Regions from separate parts of the Homo sapiens genome. Here region 2 is linked to region 1. The links are contacts of gene promoters, found by promoter capture Hi-C in blood cells and fetal thymus (Javierre and others, 2016). All regions are on one chromosome and are shown on one strand. The core of a region is centred on a gene start or on the middle of the fragment in contact, and the rest is flanking DNA. Distances in the headings are between cores, read along the strand shown. Region 1 holds the start of CLXN (calaxin). Region 2 overlaps LOC105375825 (a long non-coding RNA gene).

Region 1 (4,163 bases), core at 540-3,039:
CTCTTTCGGTTCCTTGTCTCTTGAAGTGAGCAGTGCAGCAATCTCTAGGAATTAAGTATTTGCTACAGCTCTGTGATCCAACAGAAATCAATAAGGTGTCACAGGTAAGTATAATTCAAATATGTCCAGTCTTTCCCTTTTGTTCTCTATGGTCTCAGGAATTTCACTCTTCTAGACAAGGGGATATGTAGAAACACTATTTAAAAATACTACTGTTACAAACTCATAATCACCATCAATTCATATCGGGTAACTGTTGTTAGGACATTTGCTTTAGGATAACACAGTCCATGCCTTTACCAAGCACCCTTTGCTCTAGTTTCAAACAGCATCCCAATCCTTCATTCCACAAACAAATGAAACAGTAAAGAAAAACCAGAGGCCTCGACATTGGAATTATTTCATTTGGGATTATTACTCATGGTTAGTAGAATTTTTCTGCCTTCAGTCTAAAAATGCCAGTATGTGTACAATAACATAGTTTGTCATTTTCCCCTCTGAAGTTAAACGAGCAGGCACTCTGGAGAATACTGTAGATTTGGTGATCCTGGCTGAGCCACCCCTTTTTATTGCTGCCTTAGCTGAAAGAGGATATCCCCTCTGTGATCAGGAAAAGCAGAAAGTCCTCCCACCCTGAAGATGTAAGGAATATCCTTTGTCTGCCGGCACAGAACTTGTCTTTCAAATAAGTAAAGGACCAAGGTTGCTGAGATATTTTCCGGAAAAGCAAGATTGGGCTGTACCCCACACCCAAGTGGTGTTGTCAGCCCGTTTTCATTGGGGGGAATGCCTATTTAAGCAGTATAAAAATTCCTCGTGGCTTTCCTCAGATTCCACAGACAACCTCCATCTTTTGGAAGTGAGATGAGGGCAGTGGGAAAAGAAAAAAACTACAGTCACAAGCCACATAGCGCCATTTAAGTCAACATCAGACAACATTAGGACAGTGGTCCCATAAGATGTAACACTGTACTGGAACACTGCACCTTCCCCAGAGTGCTTAGCACTCTGTTTTAGCTGCCTGCAGCATTCCGCGCTGTGACCTGCTGTGCAGGGGTGCAGCCCAGAAGCAATGGGTTGTACCATACAGCCTGGCGTGCAGTAGGCAAGGCCATCTAGGTTTGTGTCGGTGCACCGTGATGTGCACACAGTGATGAAATCTCCTAGTGACCTCGGAACGCGTCCCGCTCCTTAGGCAACCCGTGGCTGTATTCCAATTTCCCCTTGCTCTCAGAAACACAACTAAAAGCTCGAAGACCTCAGGTGACAGACTGCCTCCTGTTACCTCACCAAGACTGAAAACCTAAGCAGTGGCTCCGCCCAAAGAGCAAGCTTCTAGCCCTCTGACGGGAGGCCCGGCAAGATCGTCCTCTGGACAGCACCTTGCTATTTTGTGACGCTGCTCCAGCCCCCAAGATGTCCAAGATCTTGGGCCTTCCCTTGAGGCGTGACGCTCACGACCCGAAACACCTCTCATACAGCGTGCACACCACATTTCAGATTTTAATGATTTACACTGCAATCAAGCAAAGAGGCTGCGAACTCAAAAGCCAGCAACAACTGAACATTTAAACTCCAACGTCAACAGTCAGAATACAGCCCTCAAGGCGGCCAGCTGGGACCCTGCCGGCGGCACCGCGCACCGAGAACCCAGCGCGAGCAGTCGCTGAGCCGATGGGCGGGGCCCAGCTGTAGCTTTGGCTACGTCGCGGGCAGCCTGGGAGCCAATCCGCGGCGGGCTGAGCCGTTGCCTTGGCTACACCGTCTGTTAGGGCCGCGCACGAGATCAGTAACTGAGACCTCACCGCGTTGACCCAGCACCAGGGCTCGCGGGGGTCCCGCGAGGGTCTCGGTAGCCGCGCGCCCAGAGACCCCCGCCGCGGCCCGATTCTCTGAGCGCCAGACATGAACCGCAAGAAACTGCAGAAGCTGACGGACACCTTAACCAAAAATTGCAAGCATTGTAAGTAAGAATGTAGTGCTGGACAGGCCGAGGCTCCTGGACCGAGCCTGGGTCCCACCCCGTGCTAAGGTCCGCTGTTGTGCCTGCTTCCCGCCTGCTGGGACTCTGTGGGCTACCTACCGCCCCTCCACCCCGGCCCCTTAAGCAGAAGTCAGAGAGGGAATCCCGGGGTGCCAGCTCCTTGCGTTTGATCTTAGGAACCCAGGCCTCCGCCTCTGGTGCTACCTACACTCCCACACATGCATTTACTTGCTTCTCCAACCCTCTTCTTTTACCTGATAGAAACATGTGATGTTAGCCTCAATGAGGTGTAAAATAAATGCTAAAACCAACTGGTCTCAAGAAAAGTAGCACCACCAAGGTAGACCGTGCACTCACCCTGCTTTATAGCTCGCACATACACCCGCAGGTCCAAGTTCTGGAAGCTTACCAAGAGACCCATAGGAGAAAACGGTGCTCAACTTCTCAACATCTTTCGGAGAGATGAGTTGTGTCATCTCATCTGTGCCTCAGAACAATATTTGTTTGGAAACCAGAGTTCAGCACAACTAAACACGTGGTAAAGAATGGGTTCCCAACTTTAGACTCCCACTTTCCAGTGGCCCCTGGTGTTGAAAGATAAAGGAGACTTTGCAGGTGACAAGATGAGCCCTATTTGAAGGCACCTGCTCTAATCTCGCATTTGAAAGGGTGGTCCTAGAATTTCATAGGAAACTTTGAGTTTATATTCAGACTGAAAAACATAATTGCACTTTAGCAAGGAAGCCGTGGGTATGGTTTAGATGAGGAAGATAATTTCCTGTCGAGCAAACTTAGAAGTTGTGTGTGCTAATTGCAAAACTACTGGCCACTTGAAGAAACAGAAGCAACAATCCCCCAAATAACCGAGTCGCTCAAAAAAGAAGGAATAAACATGTTGATGTAGTTTTAGAGATTGTAAGATCTAGTGCATTCTAATTATCATTAGTATCTGATTTAATACCTGGTAAGAAATGCTCTCTTAGTGGATGGTGATATAAATGAATATTATGGTGTGTGTACGCATCTTAAAATGTTTAGGAAAAAAATCCTGTAATTTAAGATATTATTATGACTACTATACTCTGATGAGGGTTTTGTTCTGTTATTGTTTTTCTTAAAACACTTTCATTTCTGGGAGAATAGGTATTCTTCTAGTAAACATCTAGTAAACATTTTTGATAAATATTCAAAAACAATGCAATAGCTGCTATACACAATACTGATTTTGTCCCTTTCCGTAAGTTTGAATTTGATTTAGTCTCTGTTCGGTAAGTTTGAATGCATTGCAGACAATCATTCTGTGAACAATCAAAAGGTGAGTGTATATTTTTAAAGGTAAGTAAAAATATGGCAGGAAAAAGTCTGCTCTTGATTTTTTTGTTTACTAAAAAATTTTCAATGAGTCTTACAAACTTAGATGATTATTAGTTAAAGTCTATAGAAATAGTTATACGTCATGGACATTATAATAATTTTAAATTTTCTTTAACGGAAGAACTTTCCCCTAAAGTTAAATTTTGTTTTAGTTGCAAGACAATAAAGCTATCAAGATTCAATGGATAAATTTTGTAGAATCAAAGAAGAGTGAAAGATCTTAAGAGAACATCTAGTTCATGCACTGTTCTACAGATATGTTCTGCAGGACACATTCACAGCATTCCAAGAAGATGAAAACCTATTCTTGAATTTTCTTGTTTCATTTAGTATTGTATTCTAGAATTTAAGAAATGTTTAGCAATAAAAGTTTTCTTATGGCTAACCTTTGATCCTTTGGGTAATAAATTAAACTAGTTTTTAAAAATTTTTATTTCAGCTGAGATGGAAAAATGGCTAACCAACATCCCCTCTGCTACCATTTTATGTACATGAACAGAGTACATCATTCTTCATGCAGGCTTTTCTTCCGCAACAACTAACAGCTCTTGCTTTTTAGGAGGTTTGTGTGTGTGTGTGTATGTGGTTACATATAACATGAAATTTACTATTTTAACCATTTTAAGTGCTTAATTTCATGGCATTAAGTACATTCACACTGTTCTGCTTGCAACACCACCATCCACCTCCGTAACTTGTTCATTGTTCCCAGTGGAAACTCTACCCATTAAATGTTAACTCACCATTCCCTCCTCATCCTAGTCCCTGGCAACTATCATTCTACTTTGTCTCTATAAATCTGACT
Region 2 (4,163 bases), core at 1,017-3,516, 87 kb before region 1:
TGCAGGAAAGGAGCTACAGATGAAGAATAGAGAAGGCAAGAGAAGGGAGAGGATGGCTGAGATGTGCGAGATGTGCGAGTGAAGTTGGCTCCCTGTGGAAGCAGGCCTCCCTGTTACAACTGTATACACTGTGGTAGAGGAGGGAATCTGATCTGATTCCACCCTTCCTTTCCCCCTGTTGACAGCAGGAGCTTGCATGTCTGGGTCTTGCATTCAATGACTGTCGAACTGTGTGAACTTTGGCAAACCTCGGCAATTCTAGACCTCCCTTTATTCTCTGTAAATGGTGTGATACCTCATAGGCTGAGGAAGCCAGTGTTGAAAAGTGTGAAGATATGAAGAATGATGTTTCCACTGTTGCTGTCTCTTGTCCCTGTCTTTCTCTGTGTGTGTTGTTTTGTCCTCTCTTAATGGAACGCTCTCTTTCTTTTCCAGTTCCTCCTCTCCCACATGCAGTTAAGCCAAGCATCACTTCTCATGTAGTTATGCTTTTGCTATTCCTAGATATTAGTGGAAGCAAAAGGACAAGAGGAGGAATAGATGGTAGAAACAGTATTTAAGAAGTATTGTGTCCCACCTGCATTTAAATTTTGGAAATAAAACCATATTTTAACAAGTTTGTCATTAAGAAGTCATGGAACCGGAGACAGAAAGCAACAGTCTGGGCTATGTTAGCATTATGGTGGAATCCACAAAACAAGATCCCATCCTCACCATTTTGACAGTGGCTCTGGTGTTCTGTCTTTTCCTAAACAGAAAGGAGATTAGGAGACAAGACAAAGACATGTCTGCAGGCCTCAAAGGAATAGAATTAGAACTCAGAGTCTCCAGGTCACACGTCTGAGTGTAACAAGCTCCCATCACTTCTAGCATGTCTTGTTGGAGATGTAGATGCATGACAAGCAACCCTATGATATCTGGGTTCTGTTCAGAGCTGAATCTTTAGTAAAAGTCACCCCTTATATTCTCTTTTCCCAGAATAAGCTTCACCTGGGGCTCCTCTCCAGCCTGCTCATGTGTTTGTCTTGATGCTGTGGGTCCCAGTCAACATTTCCCTTCACGTTGGTGCATCCTCTTTTGACCCCTAGCTTCCATCCTCTCATCTCCCTCAAGGATTCCCTCACAGCCTTGCAATGCGTGCATGTACCTGCCTGACCCTGGTTCAGCATGTGGCATTGTCTCCTCTTGACTTACGGTGCCTCGAGCCTCAGATAGACCTGAGATCAGTCTAAATAGGAAGCATCTTTCAAAGCAGGGTGTTAGCAACATCTTTGCTTCTATTCCCCACTCATACAAGAGCGCCCAACTCAGCCAGTGGCTCAGAAAGGGGATGTGGAGTCCTGTACCTGAGAAGGTGTCATTCTGCCAGAGGCCACCATGGAAGCACCTCCCAGGATGACTTTTTATTCCCCAGGCAGGTGCCCTGGATTGCCAAGCCACATGTGGGCAGAAGCAGCCTTTTCTCTGAGCTGTGAGGAGAGTCTGTGTGCATCCACTGCAGGAGGAGGACTTCCCCGCCTGGTTCACCAGAGGGTGGGTGAGGCGGATGCAGTGGGACCACCCGACATGTCTTGTCTCAGCCTCAGGCAAGAGGATATAGTCACTTTTCGAGACCACAGACATCTCAGTAATGACCCTTTTTCTTTTCTTAAGAATCCTCAAGTAGGCTTGTTTTCCTTTGTCACAATATCTTTCACATGCATTTTTATACAAAACATACCTAACAATTTCATGTGAAATGATTGAAGAACACCAGCTATATAAGCTTACTTACTTTCAAGGCTAAATGTGCGCAGCCAATGAGAAAAGTCTAGGAGGCACCAAAATCTGTTCTCACTGCTTTTCACTTGTTTTCAAGTCTTATTCTCAAATTACAAGTCTTCCAGGCCCATTTATTTTTAACATTTCTGAAATCAAGATTGACCTGGGAAATCACATGTTATCACTGCTTGAGAGAAAAGTAGGAGCTGTTCCCCGGCCCCTCTGTGATGAGTGATGGGCCGAGGGGTTTCTCTCAGGACACGTGTCTTTCACCTGGGCACCATCTCCCCGCTGTGGGAGGAGGCTCAGCCTCCTGTGGTGCATCCTCAGGTCCAGCAGCCAGCTCTGGTGTCAGGAAGCCTGTCCAGCTTTAGAGCAGGCTGAGAATGCTTAGCCTCCAGATCCAATCTGAAGTTCAAATCAGAGGCTGCTGGTGATCTTTGGTCTTGACTCTCAGGGTGCTCTGGAAGTGGCAGCCCTGATCACATCACGTTTACTGGGTGTTAGTCTGTCTTCACTTTTTTGTTTTGTTTTTGAAAATGGAGCTTGATCACCTTCTCTGAGCTGCTCTTCAGACTGGCCCCCAGGGCATGTCTGCCTGCAGAATAAACAGCCCAGGCAGCTGCAGTCCTGGACCCACCCTGACAGTGCCCATGGGCATCATCTGAGACCACATCACCTTCTGGAATGTGCGGCACCACCTCAAACCTTTCATGCAGGTGACCAGGGGTCCTGGCCTCCTGGGTGCACATTCCTTCATCCACGAAGAAGCAGGTCCAGATTTTCAGGTGGGTCTATCCCTGTTCTCCATGCCATAGCTTGCTCCTAGCCAAGCACCAAGAGAGCGGCATCTTTTACAAGCACCTCAGGTCATTGTGGTACCTGGGGATGAGCTCACCTTGGCGTTACAGGTGGGGGCCTCTTCCATCTGGGCCTTCATTTTCTTTAAAAAATATTTTTAATTTTTTTTCCTTGAAGAGTTAACACTCTTTACAATCAAGCTTCTGAAAAAAAATATAAAACATTAGAAGTAGGATTTTCCCCACAACAATAGTTACTTAATATACCTTTTCAACTTTTAAGATTTACTCTCTTATAATTAAAGATGGACATGGAGATGATGGTAGAAACAAATGAGATGGTTGACCAAGTCATCCCCCCTCCCCCACCCTTGTGCAAGTTTGAACAGATGGCCTGGAAGGGCTCAAGCGAATCTCTCAGCCCAGACAGCTTCCGTTTGCACCAGGACAAAACCTTAAGACCTTTCCTCCTCTGTCATGCTGCAATTGCCATGACCTCTCATAGGGTAGGTTTCTAGGTGTCCCTTCTAATAATCGCCTCCCATTTTTACTGGCATCTTTTTCTTTGAATTGTCTCTTGAACATTCTGCCACTGTGCTTTGTAAGACCCAGAAAACAAAGATACATTGTTGAGAAGTGCAGGGCTCTGAAGACCCAGAAGAGGAGACAGGGAGAGGCAGACTTTAGGAAAGGAAATCTACCTGGAGCAGAAGCGACAGAAGAGGGTGGGGACCTTCAAAACACAAACTAAGATGCATTCCATCAAATCCCCTTCCACGAACTTATTGACAAGGAGTCCTAAGTTGAAAAACTGCTTTTCAAACATTAATGATCATGGTAGAACACATAATAAACAACCAGGTGACTGGCCAGGAGCCACAGGGGAGAAAAGAAACCATTTTCATGACACTTTCAGTGTGGCTCAGCGACAAAAATGACACCTTGAGGTCCAGACCACGGTGCAAAGTGCAACTCAAGACTCCACATCTATCGGGGGCACAGCTTTTCAAAGGCTGCACTCTCCTCTTCCCGCTGTCTTTCTCTCGCCTTCTTTAATATTCCACAAAACTAATTATAATAATGACTTGGATCAAGTCATGCAAAACTTCATGATTCAAGTTCTACTTCCTGAATATAAACCCCTGCCTTGTGCAAGAAAAGAAGGAAATGGATACTCCTTCCCTTTGTTTAACTAATTCACCACCAATAAGTCAAGCAAAACCAAAACAGATTCAGTGTACAGAATATACTAAAAGGATACTGCCTCAAAAGTACAATCATCTTTAAGAGTATATTTTGAAGGAGATTGCCTCTGTTTTCATTTAAAATGCAAACTTGAATTCGAAAGAAAGGCCTAAGATAGAGAAGCACTGCCTAGAGTCCTGGGGAAGAAGCCATCCCAGGACTGGCACTAATCCGTTAGTGCTCCTCCCTGCCAGGCCCCTGTGCTGCTCTCCACCTTGGCTGAGCCCTGGGGCTGTGTCCTCATGCCACGCCCTGCAGTGCCTGCACGTCCTCTGTGCCTATGCTCAGAGCTCCCTGGATGTCTCTGGTTGCTAGTTGCTATTTCTGACATCCCCAACTCCAGCCTCTGCTACTCAC

What was found. Contacts are between HindIII fragments. The CHiCAGO score rates a contact against its expected background, and 5 or more counts as called.
Region 2: a contact is called between a fragment that was not itself captured here and the fragment with the promoter of CLXN in region 1, in 2 of 17 cell types (M0 macrophages and M2 macrophages). The highest score is 5.9, in M0 macrophages.

Annotation. Positions count from the first base shown.
Region 1 is chr8:48,732,894-48,737,056 of GRCh38, reverse strand. CLXN (calaxin) reads left to right here and starts at 1,789. Exons shown (of 6, transcript NM_024593.4): 1 at 1,789-1,963. The coding sequence starts at 1,906. RefSeq lists an enhancer at 1,710-2,384. The HindIII fragment of the contact is 1,056 bases long and covers 1,335-2,390 here.
Region 2 is chr8:48,820,101-48,824,263 of GRCh38, reverse strand. LOC105375825 (a long non-coding RNA gene) reads right to left here. Exons shown (of 5, transcript XR_928859.3): 5 at 1-2,765. Among named protein-coding and RNA genes, the nearest start is that of CLXN, 87 kb to the right of the region's middle. The HindIII fragment of the contact is 997 bases long and covers 1,768-2,764 here.